Linked DNA regions of Homo sapiens: all the other regions are linked to region 1. Evidence: promoter capture Hi-C in 16 types of primary human blood cells and fetal thymus (Javierre and others, 2016). All regions are on one chromosome and are shown on one strand. Each heading gives the region's core, a stretch centred on a gene start or on the middle of the fragment in contact. The rest is flanking DNA. Distances are from core to core; before and after follow the strand shown. Region 1 holds the start of PLK2 (polo like kinase 2). Region 2 overlaps ARL15 (ARF like GTPase 15). Region 3 holds the start of DHX29 (DExH-box helicase 29). Region 4 holds the start of CDC20B (cell division cycle 20B).

What was found. Contacts are between HindIII fragments. The CHiCAGO score rates a contact against its expected background, and 5 or more counts as called.
Region 2: a fragment that was not itself captured here is called in contact with the fragment with the promoter of PLK2 in region 1 in 1 of 17 cell types (naive CD4 T cells); the score reaches 5.5 in naive CD4 T cells.
Region 3: the fragment with the promoter of DHX29 here is called in contact with the fragment with the promoter of PLK2 in region 1 in 1 of 17 cell types (total B cells); the score reaches 7.0 in total B cells.
Region 4: a fragment that was not itself captured here is called in contact with the fragment with the promoter of PLK2 in region 1 in 1 of 17 cell types (total B cells); the score reaches 6.2 in total B cells.

The regions. Positions count from the first base shown.
Region 1 is chr5:58,458,836-58,462,036 of GRCh38, forward strand. PLK2 (polo like kinase 2) reads right to left here and starts at 1,251. Exons shown (of 14, transcript NM_006622.4): 1 at 855-1,251; 2 at 150-257; 3 at 1-6. The coding sequence starts at 1,124. RefSeq lists a silencer at 1,569-1,748. The HindIII fragment of the contact is 4,873 bases long and covers 1-2,590 here.
Region 2 is chr5:54,304,445-54,307,765 of GRCh38, forward strand. The region is part of intron 1 of ARL15 (ARF like GTPase 15); the gene reads right to left. Among named protein-coding and RNA genes, the nearest start is that of ARL15, 4.5 kb to the right of the region's middle. RefSeq lists an enhancer at 228-891. The HindIII fragment of the contact is 5,398 bases long and covers 1-3,321 here.
Region 3 is chr5:55,306,084-55,309,115 of GRCh38, forward strand. It overlaps DHX29 (DExH-box helicase 29), which reads right to left and starts at 1,611. Exons shown (of 27, transcript NM_019030.4): 1 at 1,304-1,611. The coding sequence starts at 1,490. It overlaps MTREX (Mtr4 exosome RNA helicase), which reads left to right and starts at 1,906. Exons shown (of 27, transcript NM_015360.5): 1 at 1,906-2,064. The coding sequence starts at 1,931. It overlaps LOC124900979 (a long non-coding RNA gene), which reads right to left. Exons shown (of 2, transcript XR_007058774.1): 2 at 2,066-2,354. RefSeq lists enhancers at 1,280-1,539, 1,680-2,159. The HindIII fragment of the contact is 7,705 bases long and covers 1-3,032 here.
Region 4 is chr5:55,172,525-55,175,988 of GRCh38, forward strand. CDC20B (cell division cycle 20B) reads right to left here and starts at 653. Exons shown (of 12, transcript NM_001170402.1): 1 at 414-653; 2 at 64-126. The coding sequence starts at 476. RefSeq lists silencers at 377-671, 759-1,088. The HindIII fragment of the contact is 2,609 bases long and covers 861-3,464 here.

The DNA of each region.
Region 1 (3,201 bases), core at 1-2,500:
GTCAATCTAAATGAAAAAGCAAGGTAAGGCTTATTAGCTTCCAGTCACCTCGGAAAAGCCAGTGATTACACATGCAGAAGACATTTTCCTAACAGGGAAGGGCCATCCTTGCACACAAAGAAAATACTTTACTCAAGAGTCATACGCACCTTTTCCCTTTGATGAGGTTTAGCTACTCTGCTGTGAGGAATAATTTTTGCGGCGTAGACTTTGTTATTTGTCAAATCTGTCATCTCGTAACATTTTGCAAAGCCACCCTGAAAGGAAACAAAGCCGAGACGGAATTGAGGATGGCACAAAAATGGACGGCAGATATTTTAAATAAATAAATAAATGGGAAGAAAGAAAAGCAAAAAAAAAAAAATTGAGGAATGGAGGAGGGTGGACAGAGGGAGGCATTCGACTTCGTTAAAGCTCCCTCATGAAGAGAAATGCATTGCTGGAAACAGCAAGTTCAAACAGTTTCTCTTCTTCTTTTATAAAGGGGAGCTTTATGGAGGGAGTTGGAACGGGGAGACATGAAAAATAATCTCTGATGAGACTTGTCAGGAAAATTCCCTGGGAGCAGATAGAGGGAGAGAGGTCTGATGTAGAAAGCCCTCGCTTCCAGACTCAAGATGCATTTCTCTGGGCTGCGGGAGACACACAGTTCTGAGGCTAAGAATGCAAAGCCGATCCCCAGCGCTGCCGGCGCACAAAAGCCAGAGGGCAGGTGAGGAGCCCACCTCGCGCTGGGATCGGACCCCCGAAAAACCCGGAAGCGGCGGGCGAGGGACCCCGCGGGCTTGCCCGGCTTGGGGTCGCCCGGACAGACCTCCCGCCCGCCCGGCAGCCCGGCGCCCTCCGCTTGTCACCTTTCCCAGCACTTTGCCCCGGCAGTAGCGCTTCCCAGTCGTGGGGTCGACGATAATCCGCGAGATCTCCGGCCCCGAGTGCGAATGGTGGTGATGGTGGTGAGGGGCCGCCGGGGGCACTTGCGCCTGGGACTGAGGTGGCTGCGATTCCTCGGGGGGCTGCGGCGGCCGCTTCTTCTTCGAGTCCGCTCCGCAACCCTTGCCCAGCGCCTGCTCGCACATTTTGGTGCTGGCGGCTGGCTGGTAGGTGATAGTCCGCAAAAGCTCCATGGTCGCCTTGCCGCCCCGCACTGCCCGCTGCCACCCCCTAGGCGCGGTCACACGTCCGAGCCGGCCGTGGTCCTCGCACCCTTGCCTCTGGTGCCGACTAGCACCCAACACCCCGGTCCACTTGTGCGAGTGAGAGCGCTCGGCGAAGTCTTATATACGGGGAGGCGGGAAGGGGGCGGAGACTCGATACGCGACATCACGTCACGGCCTATGCCCCGCCCCACGGCCGGCCGAGCGCGCGTGGCCGGGAAGCAAGTCTTGTCCCGCCACCCGGGTCTCGCTTCCCAGCGGAGCCGCGCGCCTCAAACGCCGGCCGCCGAGATCTCTTGCGGCCGCGGGAAGGCCTTCAGAGCCGTCCGTGGGCCCCGCTGTCCCGTTCTTCGAAGGCTCCGAGCCTCAGCGTACAAAACAGAATCGCGAGGGCCGACGCCTGGCCTCACCCCCGCCCCAGCCGCCTGGTGGCAGGGCAGTGCCGTGACCCGAGCGAGTCGGGCGCGGGTGTAGACGCAGTCCCTCCCCCGCACAGCCCTTCCCGGCCGCCCGGGGCCTCCTGTGTCAAGGTATCAGGGTGCCCGGAGCCCGCCGCACGGGCAGGCGAGGCCTCCTCCGGCCGTATGACAGGGCTCGTCTGCAGCTGCCCCGCAGTGCCTGCCCGCGCTGTGACGAGCTCGCTGGTGTCTAGCTGGGGCAGTGCCGAGAGGCCGTGGGGGTGAAAGGCCGGGATTCGTGGAGCCGGGCATTCGAGCCCATCGCGCTAGGGCAGACACGGGCCCGCAGCCGGGATCCCGGGCCGATCGGCCAACCGTGCCAGGATCCCACTCGAGGCCCGTCTGGCCCCCGCCCATGCCCCTAGAGCGAGCCTCTGTCTGAGGTCGGCCCCTGAACCTTGCAGAGCGAGGTCGGCGTCCTGGCAAGGCGTCCTCCGCCCGTAGCCCGAAGATTGGAAAGCAAGGGCGCCATCTTGTGGAATGTTCCGGAATGCCGTTAGGTGTCGAAGTGGGCAGCGGTTGACAACCGTGGGCCTTTGACAGTTACTAGTACTAAACATCGATGCCGATTGTGAGTTTCCAATCAGAGTCATCTATGACTTCTTCCGAATGCATCTGTTGAGATGGCTCATGAGCTGCCCTGGTTCCTGGAGAGTCAATCTGAGACTTTCTGGGGTAGGGAGATTGGTAGGATGAAGAGAGGAGCGTAGGCCAGTGAGTGCAAACACAGCTTAGTTTCCCATTTCCAGATTTTGCTGTGCAGTTTGACTAATCTAGGAACACGTTTTTTTGTTTGTTTTTCTTGTTCTAATTACGATAGAGTAACATTTATTGAGGACTGTGCAGTATTTTTAAATGCCTTATTTCATCCTACAACAATTCTGAGAGAAATATTGTAAGGAAGGAAAAATAATTTTCCACCTTTCAAAGTTTTGGCCTGGGTCGCTGTAACCAGACAGATTAACAAGAAAACAAAGAAGCTTATTAACATATACGTCTCATATATACATGGGAGATAACCAGGAAAATTAGAGATGGTTTAAAATCGGGCTTAAATACTATCTTTAGCTAAACCAAAAGAAAAGAGTGGGGCAGGCAAGTTAAGGAATCATGACCAGGAAATGTACGGTAAACAGGAGTGGGGTTTCTTATTTCTTCATTGATAAGTTTTTCATGATTTAGAGTCATTCTTCCTGGTACAGAGGAGACACTTTTACAAATGGAGTTTTGTGGGGTTTTTTTGTTTTTTGTTTTTGTTGTTTTTTTTTTTAGTGAATGTACGTTTCCCTTACGAAAGGGTAATATGCCATTTTTAGAGCATTTCCTGGGTCTGCTGGTTCTCAAAATAATTATCTTAAAATAATCTTTATCCCAGGGCCATATTTGGGGTGGCATATTCTCATCTCCTACATTATTATTCCCATTTTATAGATGAGGCTTGGAGAACTTAGGTAATTATTGTATATTTTTACTAGATCATCGAGGTTAGGTTAATTAGCAGCACACTTGAATCTTTTTACCTATGTTAACAGGATATGGTAAATAGTTTTTTGAAGCTAAATTCCAGAGAAATTTAGAATACCAGATTA
Region 2 (3,321 bases), core at 51-2,550, 4.2 Mb before region 1:
ATGCCAACAAGCATGTGGCTTTGGCATCTTTCAGAATGCAAGCCCCTGGAGGGCATGAATCAAGGTCCCTATGTGTCCTCTCCTAGGGCTCATACTGTTAGACTGGAGCCACAGAAGTTTGGGAACCAGACTTAACACCTTTGTAGAAAAGTTCCTACCTAATGGTACGGATTTGCTCAAAACATTTTTGCTATATGAACTCCATATATGGTAGATCTGTTTATTGTGCTCAGATAATTTTTATCTTATAAATTATTAAGAAAGGAATATTTAATATGACTGCCTAATCCACTCGACATTTAGACTAAAAAGTGACCTACATTATCACTTTAAAGTTAGTCACAATAAATACAACTTACAATGTTCATAGATATTCAGGGTTAAAAACAACGAAACAATGTACTTTTTTTTTTATCAATAAAGAAGTTCAGTTCACAGATAACTGAACATAATATGAAATCACAAATGTACCTTCACTCCTCTTTTCAAGTAGGATCCTTTACAATTTCATAGTGCCTGTGGGCTCTACCCTTTGTAGCACATCATGGGTTTCTATTGTTGGTTAGTTAGCTGGTTTTTATCCTGCAAATGGTGACAGATTTGTGATGATCAACCCAATTCTCTCACCACATCTTCCCCACTGAGACATACATTTTTATGATGGCAGATACAGCCTATAACCAAGAAACTAAATAGGTCAAGTCCACCAGTCTATACAAAGAAATCTTATTAAACTAACCTATCAAATCTAATCTTATTAAATCCCAAACACTGGCAGGGCACGGTGGCTCACTCCTGTAATCCCAGCACTTTGGGAGGTCGAGGCAGGTGGATCACCTGAGGTCAGGAGTTTGAGACCAGCCTGGCCAACATGGTGAAACCCCGTCTCTACTAAACATACAAAAATTAGCTGGGCATGGTGGTGGGCACCTGTAATCCCAGCTACTTAGGAGGCTGAGACAGGAGAATCACCCCATTGCACTCCAGCCTGCATGACAAGAGCAAAACTCTGTCACAAAAAAAAAATAAATAAATAAAAAATCCCCAACACGGTACAGTAGTTTCCCCTCATCCATGGGGGATATATTCCAAGTCCCAGTGGATACCTAAAACCACAGATAGTACTGAGCTATCATAGAACTAACTAACATAGCACAGAGCACACTATATTTTTTCCTATACACACACACCTATGATAAAGTTTAATGTGTAAATTAGGCATAGTAAGTGATTAATAATAACTAATAATAAAAGTGAACAATGATAACAATATACAGTAATAAAAGTTATATGAATGTGGTCTCTCTCTCTCTTAAAATATCTTATTGTACTTTACTCACTTATTTTGAGACCTCGGTGGACCATGGTTAACTGAAACCTTGAAAAGTAAAACCGTGGATGGGAGGGTGGAGGCTACTATAAACAAATGCAATGAATATTAATTGACAATTAGCATCCAAGACTAATCAACCATTTTTACTTGTCACATTTTCAAGTCTAAGTTTATATTTTAGTTCACAATAAAACACACAAAATGAGAGAAATGTACTAGAAAGCAAAGAAGCACATCAGAAGCTACCCCCTCCCCTATGTGCCTTACTTAACCTGTCCTGCCACAGGTTCCTCTAGAGCCACACGACTGCCAGTCCTGCAGTCAAGGAGGATATTACAGCTGAGGGTTCATCCCGCATGACTTTCAGGGCCATGCAGAAAGTAAGGGCTCCATAAATATTTGTTGAATAGATAAATTATTCAAATGGGTTTTATTTTCGTAGCTTTTAAAAGATTCTTAAAAGAGTCTTGTGACTTCCTGCTTGTTGATTACAACTCCCAGTATTTCCATAAATTGAGACTAGTTTAAAAGGTATTTCAATACCACTAAGCAGTAACAGTCATTCTACAGGAGGTATAAAAGTAACATCAGCAACATAATCACAATACGTTAACTTTTTTTTTTTTTTTTTGTCTTGAGACGGAGTCTCACTCTGTCGCCCAGGCTGGAGTGCAGTTGTGCGATCTCACTGCAACCTCTGCCTCCTGGGTTCAAGCGATTCTCCTGCCTCAGCCTCCCAAGTAGCTGAGATTACAGGCATGCGCCACGACACCCAGCTAATTTTTCTATTTTAAGTGGAGATGGGGTTTCTCCATGTCAGCCAGGCTGGTCTCAAACTCCTGACCTCAAGTGATCCGCCTGTCTTGCCCTCCCAAAGTCCTGGGATTACGGGCGTGAGCCACCTCGCCCAGCCACACAATACGTTAACATTTTATATTTGAAAAGCAACGTACTGTTTACAAATGGCTTTCCCTCCACTATCTCATTTAATCATCATAGGTATTACACAGAGTACAACCAATTCTACCACTGTTGTTTTGATGGCGCAGAGGGAAAAAAGGTTAATTCCAGATCAATCATCACATGAGTCAAGACAGAAAATTTTGAACTGAAAGGAATCTAGAAGTTGATCTTGTCCAACCTCCCAGGAAAACTCGAGAAATGTGTTTTTCTCTTTCATTTTAACCTGACTATTTTCTCCTACCTTATCCAAAAAGCTCTGCACATTGTGTTACTAGTTCTACCTATGAGAAGAAAGAGTAAGATGCTGGTACTGCCTGTTGGGACAGCAGCTAAATGTTTACCCAGAGACTTGGCAGATGTAAACATGGCCTTTAAACCCCATCATGGAAAGGGGAAAAGTTGTGTGCCCTTCTAGGAAGATTCACTCATCAACTGGAAAACAGAGATTTTTATGTTTAAATTGCCACCCTGGCTAAAAGGATTATATCTTGATCATCTTCAAGTTAAGAGTAAAGGATACATTCTGCATTCCCCTGAACAAAACACCTAATCCAAACAGATTTTATCTTGTCTCAGTTTAAAAACTGGTGAAAAAAAGCAGAATTTTCCTTTCCATTTCATATTCATCTGATTCAACAAATAAAATATCGGGCCCTAACTATTAATACATGCCAGAAACCAAGTCAGGCACCGCACCAGGTGATACATCTAATTGATTAGGATTAGCAAATTTCTATTCTTTCTCTCGACTGAAATCAATAAAACCCTGTCTTAAATATTAAAGTACTATCCCTGTCCCTCACCTTGACTGTCACTTCTGAGAACATTTGTTTTAAGAAATCAACAGCGACCCGAAGATCAGTAGAGCTTCTTCATCTGTTTTAATATCTCAATCTTATTAAAAGGATTAATCCTGTTAAGACAAAATAGCACCTCCACCTTTCTCTCCCTTCTTCCTTTCCACTCTCCTCCAAATAAAAAGGTTAAGTGACGACATCCAGCCCAAAGAACAATGAACAATAGAT
Region 3 (3,032 bases), core at 361-2,860, 3.2 Mb before region 1:
AACTGCCATAGTTGTCAGGGAGAAATTCTATGTATTTGTAATTACAAGTATGCTAACTCTGTAGCTAACACTACAATAAATCGCAGGGCAAAGAACTGTTTCCACCTTCTAGGTAAAGGTCTGGTACCTGCCTACTTTTTCAGTCTCATCTCATTTCATCCTTTGGCGATGCTTTATGTTCTGTGAATTCCTCAAGAGCCCCAAGCTCTTTCCTGACTCAAACTTTTTACACATGATGTTCATTACGCCCGCCTGGAATACTAATTTCTGCCATGCTTCACAGAGTTAACTCCTTTTTCATTCTCCTCATCTCAGCTTAACTGTTACATTTCCAGACACCATCCATGATACCTGCTCATCCCGAGAAAAATTAGATTACCCTGTTAAACTGTCTTCCCTGGCTTTTCTTTGTGGCACTTATCTATTATAAGGCTATAAATATGTCTGTGTGCGTTACCTATTAGTTAATACCTATCTCTGACATTAGACTGGCAAGCTCCATGAGGTGATGTCTCTTTTTGCTCATCACATTCCTCACATCTTATCAGACACATACTAAATATTTGCATATATACACATAAATGCTCAGCAAATATTTCTTGAATACTCCAATAAGTACAAGCAAACAACCCGAGAAGAACACAACAGAATGTAATTGTTCATCTTTTGAGCTCAACCGTAATATGTGGCCTGCTCATCTGCAGCAGGAATCGGCCATCTATAAGTTGAGTTGTCAAATCAATTTGTACAGTAAGCAAAACTGCATGGCGGCAGAAACGAGGGCAGACAATTTTACAATAGATTACACGTAACCAGTGTGTAACCAGTGTGTAAGTCCTGTAATTTTTATTAAGTATTGATTTTTCCAGAACGCATGGAGACACTAGATTGTTGCTGAAAATGATATGAAAAACTGACAGAAAATGGGGCTGGCTGGCACCAGGAGGTCAGGAACTCCACTCAGTACTCGTCTTTGCGTTAGCCTAGCTAGCTGAGATGGTGCTCAGGATGAATTCCTGCTGAAACAGGAGCTAATGCAATTATTTTGTTTTTAGAAGGGGGAGAAGTGTGAGTTAAAAGAGAAATGCCAGGCTGCAACAGGGCTACTGTCAGAATTTTGGAGGCCCAAAGAGCTTAGACTTTTTTAATCTAAAACAAGGCCACCCCATGGGGAGGTAGCAGCTCGAGTGTTGGGAAATAGAAATGTTGGGCCCGAAGCTCCTCCCGGGTTCTAAGGCCCTTTCCTCAGGACAAGCAGCAAGGTCTCAGGGCAGACAGCCAGGGGCTGGGGGACCTCTCGTACCTTGCTTGACACGGGGCTCCCTGGAGCCGGCAGCGGCAGCGGCAGCGGTGGCCGGCCTGGACACTGGCTTCTTGCTTTGGGCCTCCCCGGCAATTCCAGCCTCGGCAGATTTGGCTCTGGAAGCAGACACGGCGGCCCGGACCACCGCGGCCGCTGGAGCCTTGTGTTTCTTGTTCTTGCCGCCCATGTTGCAGCTGTGGCAGAAGATCCTTCGCGGCCCAGGCCCCGACGGTACCACTGCACAGCCGAGAGCTCTTCACATTCCCCGGCTCCGGGGCTGCCACCCTGCGCTTCGATCCGGGCTTCTCGGGCCGGGGCGACCGCTGCCTCGCAATTGGTCGAATTCAGCAGGCTCCGCCTCCTTGAGTCGCCAGCTGCCTGCCACACGCCAGGCGCCACGCGCCGCCCTCGCTCTTTATCCACTGAGCAGCTTATCCACTTTAGGTCGGAAAGGAAAGGAAAGAAAAGCAGGAAAAAAAAAAAAAGTCAGGGGAACATTTTTGTCGGCTGCGCGACTCGACTACTTTTGTCTCCTGCGGGCCACTGTTGAGCCTTCACGAGACGTCACTGTCTTCGGTCGCGGGGCATCGTGGGTAGGAGGGAGATTTGCTCTCACTGCTCCCAAAAATGGCGGACGCATTCGGAGATGAGCTGTTCAGCGTGTTCGAGGGCGACTCGACCACTGCGGCGGGAACCAAAAAAGACAAGGAAAAGGACAAGGGGAAATGGAAGGGGCCTCCAGGGTCTGCAGACAAGGCAGGGTAAGGAAGAAGTTCCAGTTGTTGCTTTTATTTTTTTTCTCGGTGGGGAGGAAGAAAACACTACTCTCTTAGGAAGAGCACGAGAAAGTGAAGTGTACATTGAGTGGCGTTGGAAGTGAAGGGGTTCCAGAAAAAAGTTGGAGAGGGTGGAAGAATGTTGGTTCGTGGAAGGGGGGTCTTGGCGTTTCCTGGTGTCTGCAGGCAGCGTGATCTTCTGCTTCAATTCCCTTACGTCGATGTTACTGATTCTGTCCCCATCTTCGCGGTTGTCTCCTGCATCAGCACAACACCTGGCACATAGTCGTTAATAAACAAAACGAATGATTAGTTGAGTAAAAGGTGAAAAGGTTTAGAAAAAATGATATGAATTGATTTGGAGGGGAAAGGGCAGATAATAACATGAGAAGGGAGAGACATTTAATCTCCAAGATGTAGTAGTTTTCTCTTCCGTAAAATGGAGATAATAGTGCCTACCACTGGTGGATATGAGGATTCAATGAGATACACGTGTAAAGTGCCTAACAGTGGTTAGCTAGCTATCACTAATAAATGGTAGCTATCGTGAGTTTATTGAGAAAAAATTTAAAAATTACTGGACCCTACCCATATGTTTAGACTGGTGCATACAGCCACCAGAAAGTGTACAGATCTGTTTATAGTAGAACAAGGAAAAGCTATTACTTGTATTAAATAAAGTAAGATGATTAATTAACAATCAACAAAATATACTCTTGGCATTGTGGGGCCAGATACCCAATAGATGCTTGAAATTAAATTAGACATGATTTTGCTCTCAAGGAATTTTCGGTGTAGGGAAAGAGAACAGGTACCCATTAAAGAGTTACAGTATAGGTGAGGAGGTCGTTAACTTAAAATGAATGATATATACAATTAAGTGTTATAAAAGTTCAAGAAAGGGAGATCCTATTTCTGACTTTCAGGAAGGCTTATTTATATACAAGAGAATA
Region 4 (3,464 bases), core at 915-3,414, 3.3 Mb before region 1:
CCAAGAATTCGTTTGTTCAAGATCAGAATTAAAACAGAGAACAAGAACAAGCCCTGGACTCACGTTGGCGGAATCTTGACTTCTCTTCTGCTTCAAGTCTTTGGAGAGCACACGCATGATACTTTCCTTTGAAAACACAGATAACATATTGAGGGAGAAACTATTTAGGAAAATCATAATTTCAGGTGTGGAATTTTTCTAGATCTTGTGCTTGTCAGATTACACTTTTTTTTTTTTTTTTTTTTTTTTTTGGCAACTAGGCACCTTCAGAATATAACTAAATTACATCACTCAAATTTACGACCAGGGCTTAGAGTTTCGTACCACCTCTTGGTCCTAAACAGATATTATGAACGGGGCCTTCGGCCCCGCATTAGAGAGTTAGGGAGAATGCAGAAAAGGGTGTTACTCACCCACAGCATCTCCTCTTCCGTGCGGACCCTCCGAGGCGCGGTGCGCTCCAGTTTCCACTCCATCTCCGGCTGACTTCGCCCTGCCTGGCGTTTGGCCTCTCTGCTCGACTGCCTCTGGTTTTCTTCCCAGGTCTAAGTCAGTCTTGACGCCTAATCGTCAAACCCCTGGAGTCCCGTCCCCCAGGACCATTCTATTTCACCACCTCCCTCCAGGTCCCCCACTCCTCCCACCGCCGCTGCAAGGTGTTCCCCAGGGTACCATTTAAAAAGCCGGCGGGGCGGCAGTCGGCGCGGGAATCCCCCTCGCCGGCTTCTTATTGGCCGGCGCCGCGGTGTCGTCAGAGCCCGGGTGGGATTCCCCGGCGCGCGCCGCGGCCCCGCCCCTGCCGGCCCTCTCTGGGCCCCGCCCCGCCACCGCCTCCGGCCGAGGCGCGCACCCGGGCGCCAAGCTTTGCCGCGAGCCGTGGCGGGCCTGCGGCTGGGCCTGGCGCCGGGGGCTGCCACCGCGGCAGGAGGCGGAGGGGTTGGCGGGCGAAGAAGCGGGTTCTGGGAGTTCACGATCTTTCCATTTTCAGAAACAAGAATGTTTCCTTATAACGGCCCTGATCCCTGTTCCTCTGCACCCACTTCTCTTTCTCCAACCACACCCTGCCTTTGCAGGATCCGAGCGTGCACAGCTCTCCGGCCTCTGTCCGTTGGTAATCGCTGTGTCAGCTATAGATGTGAGGCGTGTTCGTCAGCTCTTCGTTTTCAGAAGGCAAGAAAACGTGGCAAGATTTCTATGCCGATCAAAAGGGAGAGCGTTGACATATTTATGCAATAAATTATTCCCTGCTCTATACATTGGGAGTAGTCAGGTCCTCTCACTCGGGCTTCTGAGCCCTGTTCCTTAGCAGGGGGTAGGTGAGAGAGGTGAAGAGGTAGTGAAAGAACCAGTGACAGGCAGGACCTCATAAGGCGTGAAGAGGGGGCCAGAAAGCTGAGCACACTGGGGACTCCGTGATAAAGGGGGAGAGGAAGATATTGAGGGTTGAGGAAGAGGTCTGGCGGGAAATGACAGGGAACCAGATGGGCTGTGCAGCCTTAGCTGCCCATCTGAGCTGCCAAGAGAGCCGAGTTGTGCCATATGGCAGGAGGGGACACTGCATCTGGGAAGCCTCTGACAGCCTGGCAGCCTGTTTGTCCCTCCCTTGCTAACCCCCCAACCATTTTTGACATTGGATTGTATTTTGCTCTAAGGCAATGTGAGTTTGTGTGTTTTTCTGGGGAAACAGTTCATAGATAGCAGATACTCAAAAGGGTCAGTGATCCAAAAAAAAAAAAAAAAAAAAACCTAAAACTCACTCCCCTGCTTTCCTTCATACTGAAAGCAAGAAAAAATGGCATTAGAACTAAGACCCAATCTTAGACCAGTTTTCTATGTACAATAATAATGCTGCATAGGGTAACTTAATCTTCAAATGACATATATCAAAATGTTTGATAGTCAAATAACTAGTGGATTAAAAGATCTCTAAGTTTCACCCACAAGAAGTCTATTTTCCTTGCAGTGGAGTACTCATTCCAAATTCCAGTAAATCTTTCAGCAAACATTAAGACTAAATAAAAGTAAACTATTATTGGATGAGAGTCAGATGCATTGTTAATTTAAATGATCAGTTTTGCAAATGCCAACTAAAACTCAAAGTATATTGGAAATAATATGAAGGACATATTATCTTTGTTCTATTTTTAAATATAGTTTACATTTAACCATTTTGTATAAACACAGAATAAAAGCAATTCAACTAATAAGCTCATAAATCCATGTAAATTGGGATTTTTAGAATCCAATTTCTTACAAGTACTAAGAATAGTGAATCATTCATTTAGAATGCAATTATCTGTAAAAATACATTTATAAATTCCATTATAGCCATTAATTCCACAGCATACATATACACAGCCTCCAAATGTCTTTTTTTCCCCTAGTGTGAAGTAGAGAAAGTATTAGTCAAATATCTTTAGGAAGTAATTATGCAGTTGAATATTCAGATTAAAACTTAACTTCAGAATGATGGAAACAGAAACTCGCCACTTGGCAAATATTACAGTAATAACTGTCAAGAATACTAAAATTACCTTGCATATGATGAGAATACTTCCCCCTATAATTAAACACAAAAAATAAAATCACAACTTTTCACTGGCCAAAACTGGCAGAGACCACCTTAACCAAGTGATCAAAGTTAACATCACCATTAGTGAGACATGTTGACATACTGTGCCTCATGAGAAGGACACATCACTTCTGTGATATTTTTGCCCCACAAAATGCATAACCTTAATAGTGAGAAAATACTAGACAAACCCAAATTAAAAGACTTTCCACAAAATTGGCCAGTACTTTTCAAAAGTATCATAGTCATCAATAAAGAAAGAGTAAGAAACTGTCACAGATTAAAAGAAACAAGACATGCCAACCAAATGCATTGCGAGGTCCTGGATTGAATCCTGGACCACAAAAAAGAAGATATTGGTTAGATAACTGTAGAAATTTGAATTGATCCATATCTGCAGATTAGTTAATAGAGTAGTAGTAATGCTGATTTCCTAGTTATGATTATTGTACTATAGCTATATAAAATGTTAAGATTTGTGAACGCTGAGTGAAGGATATAATGGAATTATTTGTACCATTTTTGTAACTTTTTTCTAAGCCTGAAATTATTTCAAAATGAAAAATATTTAACATCATGTGGTCATTCTATTAAAAAGCACTTTGGTAAGACTGTTTGGGGAAAACAGAAACATCCTGTAAACATATTATCTTAATTTTTATCAAATATGGTTTAGGAACAATGTCCAATTCAAATATTTATGCGCCTAAGAGTAGCTTTACTATCTTTCAAATGTTTCCTCTTTGAGAATGGGTTTTGCAGGGAGGATGTGACAATGAGAAAGGCTGTGAGGAAGACTCCTGGACAAAGGCCAATAAGAAGGATTTTGAGGAAAGAAAGGCGACAGGAGCGAGGGGAGGTGGACTAGTGGAGGAAGGGAGAGAAAGAATTT